Regions from separate parts of the Homo sapiens genome. Here region 1 is linked to region 2. Evidence: promoter capture Hi-C in 16 types of primary human blood cells and fetal thymus (Javierre and others, 2016). All regions are on one chromosome and are shown on one strand. Each heading gives the region's core, a stretch centred on a gene start or on the middle of the fragment in contact. The rest is flanking DNA. Distances are from core to core; before and after follow the strand shown.

What was found. The method cuts DNA at HindIII sites, captures the fragments that hold promoters and counts their contacts. A CHiCAGO score of 5 or more calls a contact.
Region 1: a fragment that was not itself captured here is called in contact with the fragment with the promoter of GPX2 in region 2 in 1 of 17 cell types (megakaryocytes); the score reaches 6.3 in megakaryocytes.

Annotation. Positions count from the first base shown.
Region 1 is chr14:64,819,013-64,826,187 of GRCh38, reverse strand. SPTB (spectrin beta, erythrocytic) reads left to right here. Exons shown (of 36, transcript NM_001355436.2): 2 at 3,043-3,241. The coding sequence starts at 3,094. Among named protein-coding and RNA genes, the nearest start is that of MIR7855, 37 kb to the right of the region's middle. The HindIII fragment of the contact is 3,846 bases long and covers 1,960-5,805 here.
Region 2 is chr14:64,937,657-64,944,941 of GRCh38, reverse strand. GPX2 (glutathione peroxidase 2) reads left to right here and starts at 2,197. Exons shown (of 2, transcript NM_002083.4): 1 at 2,197-2,437; 2 at 5,104-5,784. The coding sequence starts at 2,216. The coding sequence ends at 5,454. All of the region lies in intron 3 of CHURC1-FNTB (CHURC1-FNTB readthrough), which reads right to left. The HindIII fragment of the contact is 4,140 bases long and covers 302-4,441 here.

The DNA of each region.
Region 1 (7,175 bases), core at 2,633-5,132, 120 kb after region 2:
TGATTCTCCGAGAGCTTCCCTTCCTGCATGCACTGGCCCATCCCATGACCCCCTTGACTCTGATGGAATGCCATCTGGGCAGGGCCTGGGGTGGGCATGGCAGGGGAAGAGGGCACAAGGAAAGGGGCCTCACTTTCATTTCTGAATCATCTTTCCTTGGTGTTTGTTTTCAGGGACCTGACTCTTTCCAAAACAAAAACAAAAACAAAAACCCTCCAGCTGTATATTTAGACACACATATACATCTCTTCCCATTCCTGGCAGAGCTGCTGCCCGGCTGCTGCCTTCTCTGAGCCATGGCCACAGGAGGGATGGCATTTTTAAGCAGGATGAATTGCTGTCGAGCCGCTGCTCTTCTGCACCCGGGGCCATCAATCTTGTCTTGAACGCTGGGCCTGCTGGTCGGCCTGCTCAGGCTCATCTTTCTGGGGCAGACTTATTTACGGAGCCATGGCAAAGGTAATCTCACTCTCCAGCCCCACGGCCCAGGCCTCTCTCAGCCACTCTTAAAAATAGCCCAGGACGAATCAGGAGAGCCAGGGTCCGGTTACTTCCTGCACTCAGGGTCTGATCTCACCTCACCTCCTGCGTCTGGCAGCTCAGCCCTTCTCAGGGGCTGCTGGACAGGCTTGTGGCCCTGCAGGAGGTGGTCAGCCTGTCAGTCCCTCTCTGGCTCAGAGACCAAGTCAGTGGTAGTTTCCCTTAAGGGAAATAGAGAAAGGTGTGGGGCCGGGGGTGGGGGGTATCTTTCCCGGCTATCGTTGCCCAGCCAGTTGGGTGCGAAATCTCAGTCCTGGAAGCAGCAAGTCCATCTGCAGAAGAGGACAGGCTGTTCAAAGGCACAAGGGTGGTCTTGGGCACAGGTCTGGCATCATGGGGCATCCTGTGTTCGGGATGATGACTGGTTTTCCCACCTTGCACCTTCCCTTCTCTTGAGTGGCAAACACTTTTGCTAAGCCCTGGCTGGGAAATGCCCTCTGTCCCCATGCACCATGTCCTTTCCCCACCTGCCCTCCTGAAACCCTTCTGATTGAGGGGAACAAACTGTGCTCCAGTCCTTTCCCCAGCTGCCCTCCTGAAACCTGTCCGATCAAGGGGGATAAACTGTGCTCCAGTCCTTTCCCCACCTGCCCTCCTGAAACCCGTCTGGTCAAGGGGGATAAACTGCGCTCCAGTTTGGCCTTTGGTCCCAGCCGCAGTCATTCCACCGGATGACCCTGGGGAGGCCTCCTCCTGCAGCAGGCCTTGGTTTTTCTCCCAAGGCAATTAGGGTGGGTAATCCTGGCTCCTATCTTACCTCACAAGGATGTGGTGGGATGGATTCATCAGGTTGGGGAAAATGCAGTCTGAAGTGAGTCTGTATCTGAAAAATAAGGCTGTAGCCCTGCTGCCATCTCACACTTGGGCTGGTGAATGTGCTTCAGTGCCTCCGTGATCATGTGCCTGGTGGATGTGCATGTGTGTGCTGGTGTGTGTCAGTGTGTCAGATATGAGCCTGTGTGTGTGCCGTGGGTGCACACACCCACAGAGGGAGTGGTCTCCCTCACAGCTCACTGGCTGTCAACCCCCATCACAGGTCTGCCTCACAGCCTCCCTGCCTCCCGCTTTGCTCTCTTGGTTGTGAAGGCTCTGGGTCCCCTATTCTCTTACAGACTTGATCTTGGAGTCCCTTAAGATCCCTAGAAAGAGGACCAAATGTCAGGTACAGATGAAGAAAGCTAATAGTTTTCCTAGGGTCCAGGGCATTGAAGACCAAGCCTGGCTCCCCTGGCCCCCTCCTCACTTTTCTCCCCTGACTCCACCCCTGCCTTCCCGTTACTTCTTAAAGTTCTCAAAGCTTTCTGTGTTCTTTCTTACCTTCAGGACTTTACACCTACTCTTTATTCCCTTTGCTTGGACTCTTGTCCTTTCCCACCTGTCCCTTCATGGGTACCTCCAAGCTTCCTTTAGGAATAAGCTTCAACTTCCCCTCCCTGATACCAGTCCCCGCCGAGTCCCCACCTAAGCCAGCCATGACACACATCACACCTTCTTGTAGTTGCTTGTTTAATTGTGTGTCTCTGCCACCAGATTCCAAGCTCTGTGAGGACATGACTTTCCTGTCTTACTTGCCCCTGCCTAGTACAGTGCCTGCCACCTAGTTGGAGCTTGGTACATATTTGAATTAACTGTAAATGAATGAATGAGTGAGTAGGAATGACTGATGACGGGTGAGGGAGGACCCAGTGCTCCTGATGCGCTGGTTCATCACATGGACTCACAATGCACGGTTCCATTGTCCATGGGATGCCCCGACTGCCACGTGCTTGATGGGACAGCAGGCTCCTTTGGGTTGCTCAGTCTGTCCTGGAATTCAACAGGAGACCTCATCTGAGCACCTGGTCATGCTCCAAAGAAGCCCTAAAATGCGAGGTCAGCTTTCTGAATACCAACTGCTGGGAAGGAACTCAGAGGGCTCTCAGAAAGCCTCCGGGAGGAGTGAAGTCCCCCCAGTGCAGCTGCCCCGGGCTGGTGGCGTCAGTGGCGGCTTAACTCTCTCATCCATCTCTCCCCATGGTTCCCATATGGGTCAGACTCAGCCTGTTTCCAGCCTCTCCCTTCCCCTGGCCTGTCCCCATCTCCCCCACCAGGTTAGGTCCTGGCCTAGTCCTCAGGGTGAGGGTTGCTTTCCCCAGCTTGTGCCCTGCTGCCTCTGGCTCCCAGGAGAGCTTCCTCTCTCCCGGGGTGCTCCCCGCGGCGGGGCGGCTGGTCTGGAGGAAGCAGCTGGCTGCGACTGACGTCTCCACCTGCTGGCCGTCCTGACCCTTGCTACGTGCAGCTCTCCATCCCTGCCACTGCTGCCGGTACTGTTGCTGCTGCTGCTGCTGCAATATTTTATAACAAACGACCCAGAGACCCTGGTAGGAAGCACGCCCAGGCAGATGACATGGCGTTCTGCTTCTGTCAGGATCTACTCACGTTGGATGCTCCGAATAAGTTTCCCCGGAGAAAAAGTCCGAGGGGGTAGAGAGATAACCCTCTGACTGTGTTGCTGTCCCCCAGGGATCCTTCCATGAAGACTGAGGCAGGCGGAGCTGCTAAGAGCCTGCTGACATGACATCGGCCACAGAGTTTGAAAATGTGGGCAACCAGCCACCTTACAGCAGGATCAATGCCCGCTGGGACGCCCCAGACGACGAGCTGGATAATGACAACAGCTCAGCCAGGCTCTTTGAGAGGTCCCGGATAAAGGCCTTGGCAGGTACTGTTTGGGGCCACAAGGGTTGGAGGGCATTCTCACAGTCACAAGGTTCACAGCCCTCCCCACCTAGTGTGAATCCTCTGTGTGTGTTGGGTGAGCCCTGGCATGGCAGTGATGGAGACGTGTTTGTCGGGCTCAGGGAGGTGGGGGTCCCCTTGGGAGGGAGCTCAGGCAGCCTCTGCCCCCAAGGCCTCTGAGAAGCAAGGAGGTGCTGGAGCTGGGACCAGGTGGGGCCTGCCCTCTGCCTCTGTCCTGAGTGACCTGCGGCCAAGTGAGAAGTACGAGAGTCTGGGCAAAGCAGTGTCTGAGGGCTGGACAGCCGGGCGCAGGTTCACAGGGCCTCCTGGTTAACCCCGATTTCCTGCCTGGGCCTAGAGAGAGGAATTACCATAGTCCTCTCTGTAGTCCCAAAAGGAGTGATTGGATAGGAAATCGAGAACAGATAACATCCTCCCCACTGCCTCAGGAAGGATTTTCTTGATGAAACCTTTCATCCTTAAACTGGAATTAGATTTTTGCTTAGCAGGTTCATAATAGATCTCTCTGTGTGTGTGTGTGTGTGTGTGTGTGTGAGAGAGAGAGAGAGAGAGAGAGAAGGTGGGGGTGGAGAATATCTTAAATCTCTAGTAGAAATGACTTCTCCTCCCCCTGTTGGCTGATATCTGATTCTTGGGATTTTTTTTTTTTCCCCAACTCCTGTGACTATTGCCTCCCTGAACTTGACCCAGGGTAAGTATATTCCGACCTTAAGTCTTCGGCCAATAAGAAAGTTTGAGTTACATGGGGTTGTGTGTGTATGTGTGGAAGGTGGGTTCCTTCACCTGATCCACCAGTCAGCAGCCCACACTGGACCTGTTTCCCTATCATTGACTGTTGCCGTCTTCCACCTCCTAAGAAGAGTACAACCTTCCCCATAAACACTTTCTGGAGTGATTCTCCCGCTGCCCCCATACCTTATGGCCCAAATTGAAGGTTGTAGTAATCCTCTTCCCCACTCCCTCCCTGTACTCAGCTCCCAGATACCACAGTCCCTGGCAGACCTTGAAGCCTGAGCAGGGCCCTGGACCCCTCTGGGACCATAATGACCTCACATCTTGGGAGTGTCTGGGCTTCTCATGCCGGGAAAGGAATGCTGCGGTGTCTCATCTCCCTTGTCATGACAAGGAATCCACTTGGGTCTCAGTCATTACCCCTGGTGTCCTTGCTCTTTACAGGAAACTCTCTTTCTTCTTTCTTTATCTCCTTCTCACCCTCCTTGACCCCACAAAATTCTCCCTTGGTTTCCCTTGGGGACGGACCATAACGGTGACCCATTGCTTTTGTGTATGTTAATTTAAGCCAACCAAACTTGGAACCATTGGCTTTGTCGTCAGTCTGGTTTTACCTTCTTATATCTCTGTGCTGGCTGGATCTAGCTGCAATGACCCTGGCGATCCAGGTGGAGGGAGAGGGGTACCATATTCCGTAAGATTTGCCAAAGCAAGGTAAGAGTGGGGACTGGCCTTTGTGCAGAGATTCTTTTATCTTTTTTAAGAAACCAAGGTAAATTCTATTTTAACAGTTGCTTGTTGTACTCCTACTATGTTTAAAGCTAAACCCCTGGCCAACCATGAAAGGGGAGAGGGGAACCACAGAGATGAATTCAGTATAGTGTCTGTCTCTCAGGAGTTCAAAATCTATTAGGGAAAAATGAACTATGTTCACAATTAATTAGCATGAGTGGAATTAGAGAAGAACTGTAGGATGGGCACATAAATTAAACAGCAATGAGAGAGCCAAGGAAGAGATGCAAGGAAAATCGGGGAACAGTTCATGGAGGAGGCAGCCTTTGAGCTGGGAATTGAAGGGTGTGTGTGATTCTGGCAGGCAGAAGGGCCCCGGGTTTCTCCAGTTGGCCTGTGTGTGTTGTCACCACGTCTGATGAGCTGCTTGGGAAGTTGGTGGAGACAGGTTAATGAGCCGAGCACAAAGCCGGGCGTGGTAGCTCATGCCTATAATCCCAGCACTTTGGGATCCTGAGGTAAGTGTATGGCTTGAGACCAGGAGTTCAAGACCAGCCTGGCCAAGAGGGCGAAACTCCATCTCTACTAAAATCCAAAAAAAAAAGAAATAGCTGGGCGTGGTGGTGCATGCCTGTAATCCCAGCTACTCAAGAAGCTGAGGCACGAGAATTGCTTGAACCCGGGAGGCGGAGGTTGCAGTGACCCAAGATCACGCCACTGCACTCCAACCTGGGTGACAGAGCAAGACTCTGTGTTTAGTGGTCAGTCCTAGGTTGATCAGGAAAGAGCCTTTGCTGACCTTGGCTGTGCCTAGTTGAGCCTCCTCCTCACCAGGAGCATGCATCTGACTTACCAGAGAATCTGAATGCCCCCCAGGGAGAGGAAAAGCCACAGAGCATAGAATTGTATGCCTGGGCCTTAACTATTCAGAACATCTGGCCAACAAGTAAATATGCAAGTTTGAGGTCCTTTCAAGATTTTCAAGAACAAACAACCTAAGTGGTTTACTGGCTTCCTTCTCCTGAGAGTCCACTCTAAGTGACCTGGGCTTGAGCTAAAGCTTTGGAAAGGTCTAAATAGGGTGGCCAGATGTGCCCATTCTGCTGGGTAGGCAGAATGGAGAAAGGGAGCATGTCAGCCTTCCTAGTCTCAACGTCTTGACTTTTTTTCCCTTCAGTACTGTTGTTGGGGCCACCTTAGCAGCCTAGGCAGGGGTGTCTTTCAAAAGAAACATTAGGGAGAAGGAGCTCTCAGCCACTCTCCCACTCACAGGAATATTAAGGCAAGGAGGGGATTCAGCCCTGAGTTGCTTATAAGATAGCAGTGATCTACTTCATAGGTATATGTGGCAAGGTTGGGGAGACTGGCCTGGCGTCTTCTTCTGAAACTGAAGGTCCTGGGGTGAGGAGGAACATGTCACAAGATCCAGATTCAAGTCCTGATTCTGCCTCTAATGCCACCGCAGTGGAGGATCACTGACTCCTTTTCCATTTTTATAAAATGGGGATGATAGTATTTTCTCAAGGTTGTTGTGAAGAGCAAATAAGATAAAGTTTACGGAAGTTTTTATTTATAATAAAATGCTAGGTGAATGTTAGATAATGTTAGTACTAAGAAAATTTCCCATCGGTGTTTTCTGTCCTTTCTCTTTTCCCAACTTCAGACATTCAAGATCATGAGCTTGGTCTTTTTCCTTGCCTGTTGTACCTTGGCCTGTTCCAGGACCTGTTTCTTCCTTCTTAACCCCCACCCTCCTTTGCCTTGGAAGTTCTGAGTTGGAAGGAAAAGCCAGGGACCAAGGAAACCAGGCTAATGTTTGTGCTTGGAGCTCTGGGCTCTTTCCCCTTCCCCCAGACCTGATGCCCATGAGATGAAGCCCCATGCCATGCAGGTCTCTCTCTCTCCATAAGACTATCCAGTCCACGACCCTGGCTGTGTCTCCGCCATCTGGCTGGGTGACATGGGAGGCCCAAGAAACGTAAGGATGATGGGTCTTGTCAAATGCTTTTCCAGATGAGACAGTTTCTCTAGGTCCATCTCCATTTAATGACCTATGGTTGGAAGACCTGAATTGGGGTGACTGGATGTGATCTTTTCTGCTTCTTAAGTAAAATTCCTCTCAACTCCAAAGGAAATACTCCCTGTTCTGCCTTTCATACCACTCCCAGGTCTTCCTTCCTGGACCTAAAGAAACAAGCCATCTGGCTCATCTGTCCTAGTACATAAAAACCTGACCTCTCTCCAGAATGAATGACTTTCTTTATGAAACTGGGAGTCAGCCTAACTAAAGTGAAAAGGAAGAAGGGTAGGAAAATGTTGCAGAAGGCTCCTGTAAGGGGGTGGATTTGACCTTGGCAATGCCAAGGGGAGGGCTGGGATCCCAGCAGGAATATTTGCCCTGTAGATCCCTGAGCAGATTTTAGCGTTTTAAC
Region 2 (7,285 bases), core at 948-3,447:
CACTCCTGCCTGGGTGACAGAGAAAGACCCTGTCTCAATAAAAAGAGCTTAAAGATTTGCCTAAGGGTCCGAAGTAACAGTGGCAGAATTGTGGTTGTAAACCACTGAATTGGAATCACTGGAGGGCAAAGCTTTGGCATCTCTAGAAAAATTCCTACAAACAATTCTCATTTGCAGTCAGAATTAAGAACCACCAACCCAGGCTTTCTGCCTAAGCCAGTGCTGTGTCCAGAGCAAGCACTGTCCCACAGAAAGCCATAAGAATCATACGCTGCTTAGTGTATGCTTAAAGTTGTAAGCTTTTGGAAAGCGAGGCCAGTTTGAGGTAAATTTGGAGACAGAGATATTTTAGGAGAGCCTCACCAAGTATATTCCATTAGGAAAGGTGAGAACCCTGGGAGTCTGAAGGGTCCAAGGTCACACCAGGAGAAAAGGGATGGCATGTACCTAAGGAAGAGGGAACCCCCACACTCCTCATCTTGGGAACTCCCATGGCCTTCTTGAAGAAGGCTTGCAAAAGAGCAGAGAATAAGAGGTGTCTCTGGAGGCCCAGAGAGTACTAGGGGGAAGCTCTAGGTATGCACATAAATCCGGCAAGTTACAGTTCTGCCCACTATCAGTGCCAAGTCCTTGTGACTCAGTGGCTTGGTGGGGACTCTTTCTTATTGGTTGCTTCTAGGAACTCCACCCAGCTTCAGCAGGGGACACACTTCCCTCTACACTTCCTGTCACTCCTTCTGTCCACTTAGGTAATGGAAACTTGTTTTTAGGGAGCAGCCAGCTGAGACACATGGTCCCTGTATACTTGAACAGCCATGGAAAAGCTGCAAGGCAGCTTGGCGCTCCCTGGTGATAATTACTTCATCTCATCTCAACAAATCAGATTCTCAAGACCAGCTGCTCCCCGGACTTGCTTATTCTTTGTTCCAAGGAGACAGTTCCCAATGGATGTGCCCCTGTGAAAACACCCTAGTAAACATTTGCTTTGTTATTGAAATTTCACTCTAAAATCCCAAAGCTAGGTCAAGCCCCATTGCTAGTTTTACTGATGAAGAAATCAAGGCATTTTTAAAAGAGTAACTTGTTGAGTTGGCGGGTGCTTGGGTCTTTTCGGTTTCTGTGGCTTCCAGGGGTGGGCCTCTGAGATGGCCCTTAGCAGATGTCCTGCGATGCACTGCACGCCTCTTGTTGAAAGCATCAGGGGTGACCTGCCTGCGTCTGGAACCACAGCAGCTTCAACTTCCTCCACACACTTCCTTCTGTGGGAAGGTGACCAGCACAAACCCGCTCTGAAAAGTCTTGGGGACCAAATCTCTGTCTGAGAGGAAGGTAGGTGCAGTTCATCCACTAAGTTTATCCACCTGTTCTGTGACTCCTCTTCACCATTCTCCCAGCAACGACTGAGCCTCATGACTTGGGGGCTGGGGGATGAGGTGGAGGTGGGGGATATAATATAGGAGATGGTACAGTGCAGGGGCAGAGGCTGGTGTGTTCTCCAGGACAAGTGGCACCACGCACTGAAAGACTTTTCAAGATAAACACAACTTTGTCTCTTCAGCCTGGCAAGAGCTGAGGCACTGAAAACTTCTTTTTTCCCCTAGAAAATGACACACTCTCCTCCTAAGGGTCCCTTTGATTTTGTCCTGGTGGAAAGCAACAAAGAGAAGAACGTGAACAGGAATATGTATATTTCAGTTGTCATCTGAGTCCCATGGATAGGAGGCTCAATTCTCTTCTTCATCTTTCAGATCTCCGCAGACCCTGCCCTCTCACTGTACAATTCAGAGATTGACACTCAGCAGGCATTCAATAAACGTCTGTGTCAAATGAGAACAACTTGATGGGGCAAGTAGGAGTCAATCCTGCATCCCTCCCTCCCTTTTTTTCCTCTCCATTCGACCTTTAGGGCTCTGGTTTCCTGTAAGCAGTGAATTATTTACCTCTGCTCATAGATATCAAATTGGCCCTTCCCAGGTTGCAGCAGGGTGGGGCGGGGAGGCGGCCTTGTTCAGTCTGTTAATAGGAGGAGCAACCTCCTTGTTCAAACAGCACTTACAGGTGGGGACCTGTTTTTGCTAAGTCATCCTGGGGATGCTCAAAGCTCCATTGTTAGATCCTTTCTGTCCTCCTTCCTGGCTCCTCCTTCCTCCCCACCCCTCTAATAGGCTCATAAGTGGGCTCAGGCCTCTCTGCGGGGCTCACTCTGCGCTTCACCATGGCTTTCATTGCCAAGTCCTTCTATGACCTCAGTGCCATCAGCCTGGATGGGGAGAAGGTAGATTTCAATACGTTCCGGGGCAGGGCCGTGCTGATTGAGAATGTGGCTTCGCTCTGAGGCACAACCACCCGGGACTTCACCCAGCTCAACGAGCTGCAATGCCGCTTTCCCAGGCGCCTGGTGGTCCTTGGCTTCCCTTGCAACCAATTTGGACATCAGGTGAGGGGTCCCTCCTTGTAATGCACCAAAAGTGTTGGGTTGGTGTAGCTCAGGTGGGATAAAAGGAGAGGCTGAATGACCATGTTTTGGAGTGTCTGGAATAATGGGGTATGTTTTGTTAAGCTAGGTCTTTAGGTGCATGTGACATACCAAGAGAAGGTATATATTTTTTAAGATTAAACACTGAGGCTGTGTGATTTTTATAGTTTACTGTCTTTCTACTATATTACTCCATGAGGGCTGGTTCCAGGTCTGTGTTTCTCTCCACTGTGTCCTCAGTGCCTAGGGCACAGAAAGCACTCATTAAATATTTGTTGAATAAATGAGTGGAGAAAGTAGAGGCCAGGAATCAAACAAGAATTGGACAGACTCAAGAGACCTTAGCTCTAGCTGGACTTGGTTTTGCTATTTAATGGCTCTGTGCCCTCGGAAAGGGCGCTTCATTTTTCGGTTTAGTTTCCTCATCTGTAAATTGGGGATAATACCACTTAGCTCATAGGATTATTATGATGTTTAGGGGACAGGATATACAAAAGTAACTTGAAAAATATAAAGTACTATGCAAATGCAAGCAAACTGTTATTTAGATTGAGGATGATTTTTGTTGGTTTAAATTAGCCAAGTGGAAAGAAAATAAGCAGGAAAGAGAAAGGTTTTCAAAAGGCACGTGCCTCTGGGCATTACATGCACCTATTTCTGATTAATGGGTCAAGCTGTTATAGATCTTCAGCCCACACACCTCGAGTTCTCTTTTAGGGATTCTTCTATTTCCACCTATGATTTTAACGTACAAGCAGGGAGAATGAACCCAAGCGAACCCTCTCGTTATAATCCCCTTAGTTCAATTCACAGTGGTATGAAGGTGAGGAAGACAGGAAAGCAGGAAGGCTGAAGCATCACTGGCTGTGACAAACCTGAGCCCAAACTGTTCACTGCTCTCACTGTTCTTCCCTAAGTTTTCTGTCTGGCCTTTTCTAGAGCAGGAGAGACAGAAGTAGCAAACCCTCTTTCGAGATGTCCCTCCAGCCCCAGAAGTACCTCCAGCCTCACACCATCTCTTCAGCCTAGCAAGTTGCTGGAGGGAGTCTATAACCTACCAGGAGCCAGCCAGCCATTTGTATCAAGAAATAGAAATCTGCCAGGGTACAGTGGCTCACACCTATAATCCCAGCGCTTTGGGAGGCTAAGGTAGGCAGATTGCTTGAGCTCAGGAGTTCAAGATTAGCCTGAGCAACATGGTGAAACCTTGTTTCTACAAAAAATTGCAAAAATTAGCCAGGCATGGTGGCATGTGCCTGTAGTCACAGCTACTTGGGACGCTGAAGTAGCAGGATCGCCTGAGCCTGGGAAGTCGAGGCTGCAGTGAGCTATGATTGTGCCACCGCACCCCAGCCTAGGTGACAGAGTGAGGCCCTGTCTCAGGAAAAAAAACAGAAACAAAAACAGAGAAGTCCACTAGAGATCAGCTCTGGGCTCATGATGTCATGATGGCCTGGAACTGACTGAACTAGTTAGTTCTCACAGGTCAGAAGCAGGAACTTTCTCCCAGAGGAAGGTATCTGTCTGTTAAATTGGAAAGGTAGAGGTGGAAAAGAAGGGTTCCCATAGGCCTTTTGGATTGTCATGAATGGTGATGCTGAGAGGGAATAGGACAGGGATGGCAGTGGGGAGGGAAAGGCAGGGACCAGGTTTTGAGCCAAAGCATGCGTAGCTGAGAGCAGTGAGTGGATAGGAGGTGCAGCAGTCTTTGGGTAGCAGCCTACTCAAGAAAAGAATGATAATTACATACTCACAATCTTTAGCCATCAAGCACTTATTTCCTCAACTCCCCCTCCCCCTGGCCTATTGCCAAACCCTAAATCCTGTATCCTATTTACTTCATGCCTGTTGGTTACTAAGTAGTTCCATTTAGAGTACACATTCATTGTTGCCTTGAACTTGCTCTGCTGTTATGGCACCTGAAAACTAGATGTTCTTGGATGGGGGTCTTCCTTCATCAAAGCTTCTTCCCATTTGTACTTCAGTTCTAGGACAAGGCAAGAAGAAAGCAAGAAGCTGTAAATCCCATTCCTCTGGGTCTCAATTTCACCCTCAGTTCAAGGAGCTGAGTAGGCAGAGGCAAAGGCTATACTCAACACACGTGCAATTGAAAGCAGGCGAGGCAAAACCAGGGCAGAGGAAAGGAAAGGGGTGTGTGTGTAGGTATGGATTTATGGGTAGGTGGGTCGGTAGGTTAGTTGAAGAGGAGGTTCTAAGCAGTATAACCTAAGCCTCTTTTCTCTTTCTTCTGCTTCAAACACCTTAAGAACTGCTCAGGGTAGACTGGAGACAAAAGCAACAGCTCAGAAGTGCTAAATCTTGAAGAGCAGCCAAAGCATGGGCAACAAAGTGAGACCCCATCTCTACAAAAAAAAAAAAAAATTAGCCGGGCATGGTGGCCTGTGTCTGTAGTCTCAGCTACTAAAGAGGCTGAAGCAGGAGGAATGCTTGAGCCCAGAAGTTCAAGGCTGCAGTGAGCAACACCTCGTCTGTCTTGTCTCTCTCTCTTTCACAGTGAAAAAGAATGACCCTGGGGAGGGAGTGTAGGAGGGTGAAAGAGTTTCATGTTGTGGATCTTTCTCTTCCCCCACCCACTGTCCACGCACTTTGTCTTTTTCCTCCCCTAGGAGAACTGTCAGAATGAGGAGATCCTGAACAGTCTCAAGTATGTCCGTCCTGGGGGTGGATACCAGCCCACCTTCACCCTTGTCCAAAAATGTGAGGTGAATGGGCAGAACGAGCATCCTGTCTTCGCCTACCTGAAGGACAAGCTCCCCTACCCTTATGATGACCCATTTTCCCTCATGACCGATCCCAAGCTCATCATTTGGAGCCCTGTGCGCCGCTCAGATGTGGCCTGGAACTTTGAGAAGTTCCTCATAGGGCCGGAGGGAGAGCCCTTCCGACGCTACAGCCGCACCTTCCCAACCATCAACATTGAGCCTGACATCAAGCGCCTCCTTAAAGTTGCCATATAGATGTGAACTGCTCAACACACAGATCTCCTACTCCATCCAGTCCTGAGGAGCCTTAGGATGCAGCATGCCTTCAGGAGACACTGCTGGACCTCAGCATTCCCTTGATATCAGTCCCCTTCACTGCAGAGCCTTGCCTTTCCCCTCTGCCTGTTTCCTTTTCCTCTCCCAACCCTCTGGTTGGTGATTCAACTTGGGCTCCAAGACTTGGGTAAGCTCTGGGCCTTCACAGAATGATGGCACCTTCCTAAACCCTCATGGGTGGTGTCTGAGAGGCGTGAAGGGCCTGGAGCCACTCTGCTAGAAGAGACCAATAAAGGGCAGGTGTGGAAACGGCCAGCCTGTGTGTGTGTTCTTTGACAGAGGGCGGAGGGAAGCTACAAACTGCAGGTGGGATAGAGGAGCTGCTAGCACACAAAGCTTTGGGAGGGGAGGATCTGACGGATCAAGGGATGCCCTAATTACTGACAGGAAAGCAAGCGCTGGCCAAGGTCTGCAGTGGCAGGTGCAGTTACGGGAAATGTGAATTATATTATTCCTTTACAGCTCTTCTTCAGAACTGGGGAAAAAGAGAAAGTGATAATGGGAGGTAGAGGAGGAAAAGACAATGAGCCCTTTGGTTGGGGATATTGGGAGGCTGTTAGGAGGATTACAGTCAGGAAGCATCAATAGCACTGTGGGTACTGGGCCAACTAGATCTGACTTGTGCCTTGGGAAATTCCTGGGCAGTCAGCTTAGTTAATGTTTACCAATAGCAAGGGCATAGAGGGTGTAGTTACTGAGAACACAAACAGCACTTTATCTTTTTCCTGATCATCAAACATCTCGGGTGTTTGATCCTTTGCTAGACTGATTCTCCCTCCTTTTTAAAGTTCATGGCCCGGGTGTGGTGGCTCACACCTATAATCCCAGCACTTTGAGAGGCCGAGACAGGCGGATCACTTGAGGTCAGGAGTTCGAGACCAGCCTGGCCAACATGATGAAACTCTGTCTGTACTAAAAATACAAAAAATTAGCCAGGTGTGGTGGCGCACGCCTGTAATCCCAGCTACTCAGGAGGCTGAGGTGAGAGACTCATTTGAACCCGGGAGGTGGAGGCTGCAGTGAGCCAAGATGGCGGCGCCACTACACTCCAGCCTGGGCGACAGAGTGAGACTCCGTCTCAAAATAAATAAATAAAGTTCACATTACACCCTCATTCTTCTCAAAATCACATATTCACAAATTCAGGCTCCAGACAAATAGAGGCAGGAATGACTGGACTCATTTCTTCCTCTGTAAGAAGGAAGGGGTTGGGGATGGGAGAGAGCCTCCCTTCAGAGTCAGGCTGTTTATAATCTGCCATTTGCAACATCATTATTCCTCACTGTGAGGACAGTTTTGCTCAGAGGCCTTGCAAGGATGGTGTCCCCAATTCCTCATCCAGTGCAGACATAATCAAAACATATCACCACCGCCAAGGTCAGGTTCTATCATGTTCTGGAAAAGATACCTGCTGAGAGGCCACTGCCTGTCACCTTGCCCCACAGACCTCATCCTGGAAACTTCTCATTTCATCTTCCCTTCTTTGACCACTAGATGGAATATTTTCACTTCTATTCACTGAAACCCTGAAGGGACAGTTTTCCAAACTGGACACACTGCTTGAGAAGCCCAATGCTGAAGGGAAAATGTTTTTCCTTTAATTGTTCTGCTTACCCTAACCATTTTCTAAGCACTTGCATCATATGAGAGTGAATGTGGAATAGATGTTTAGGATCCCCACTTTCTGACCTTCAACTAAACCTGTCAACAACAGTGCTTTATTTCAAAAGGGTAACCTGAGTATTACAGT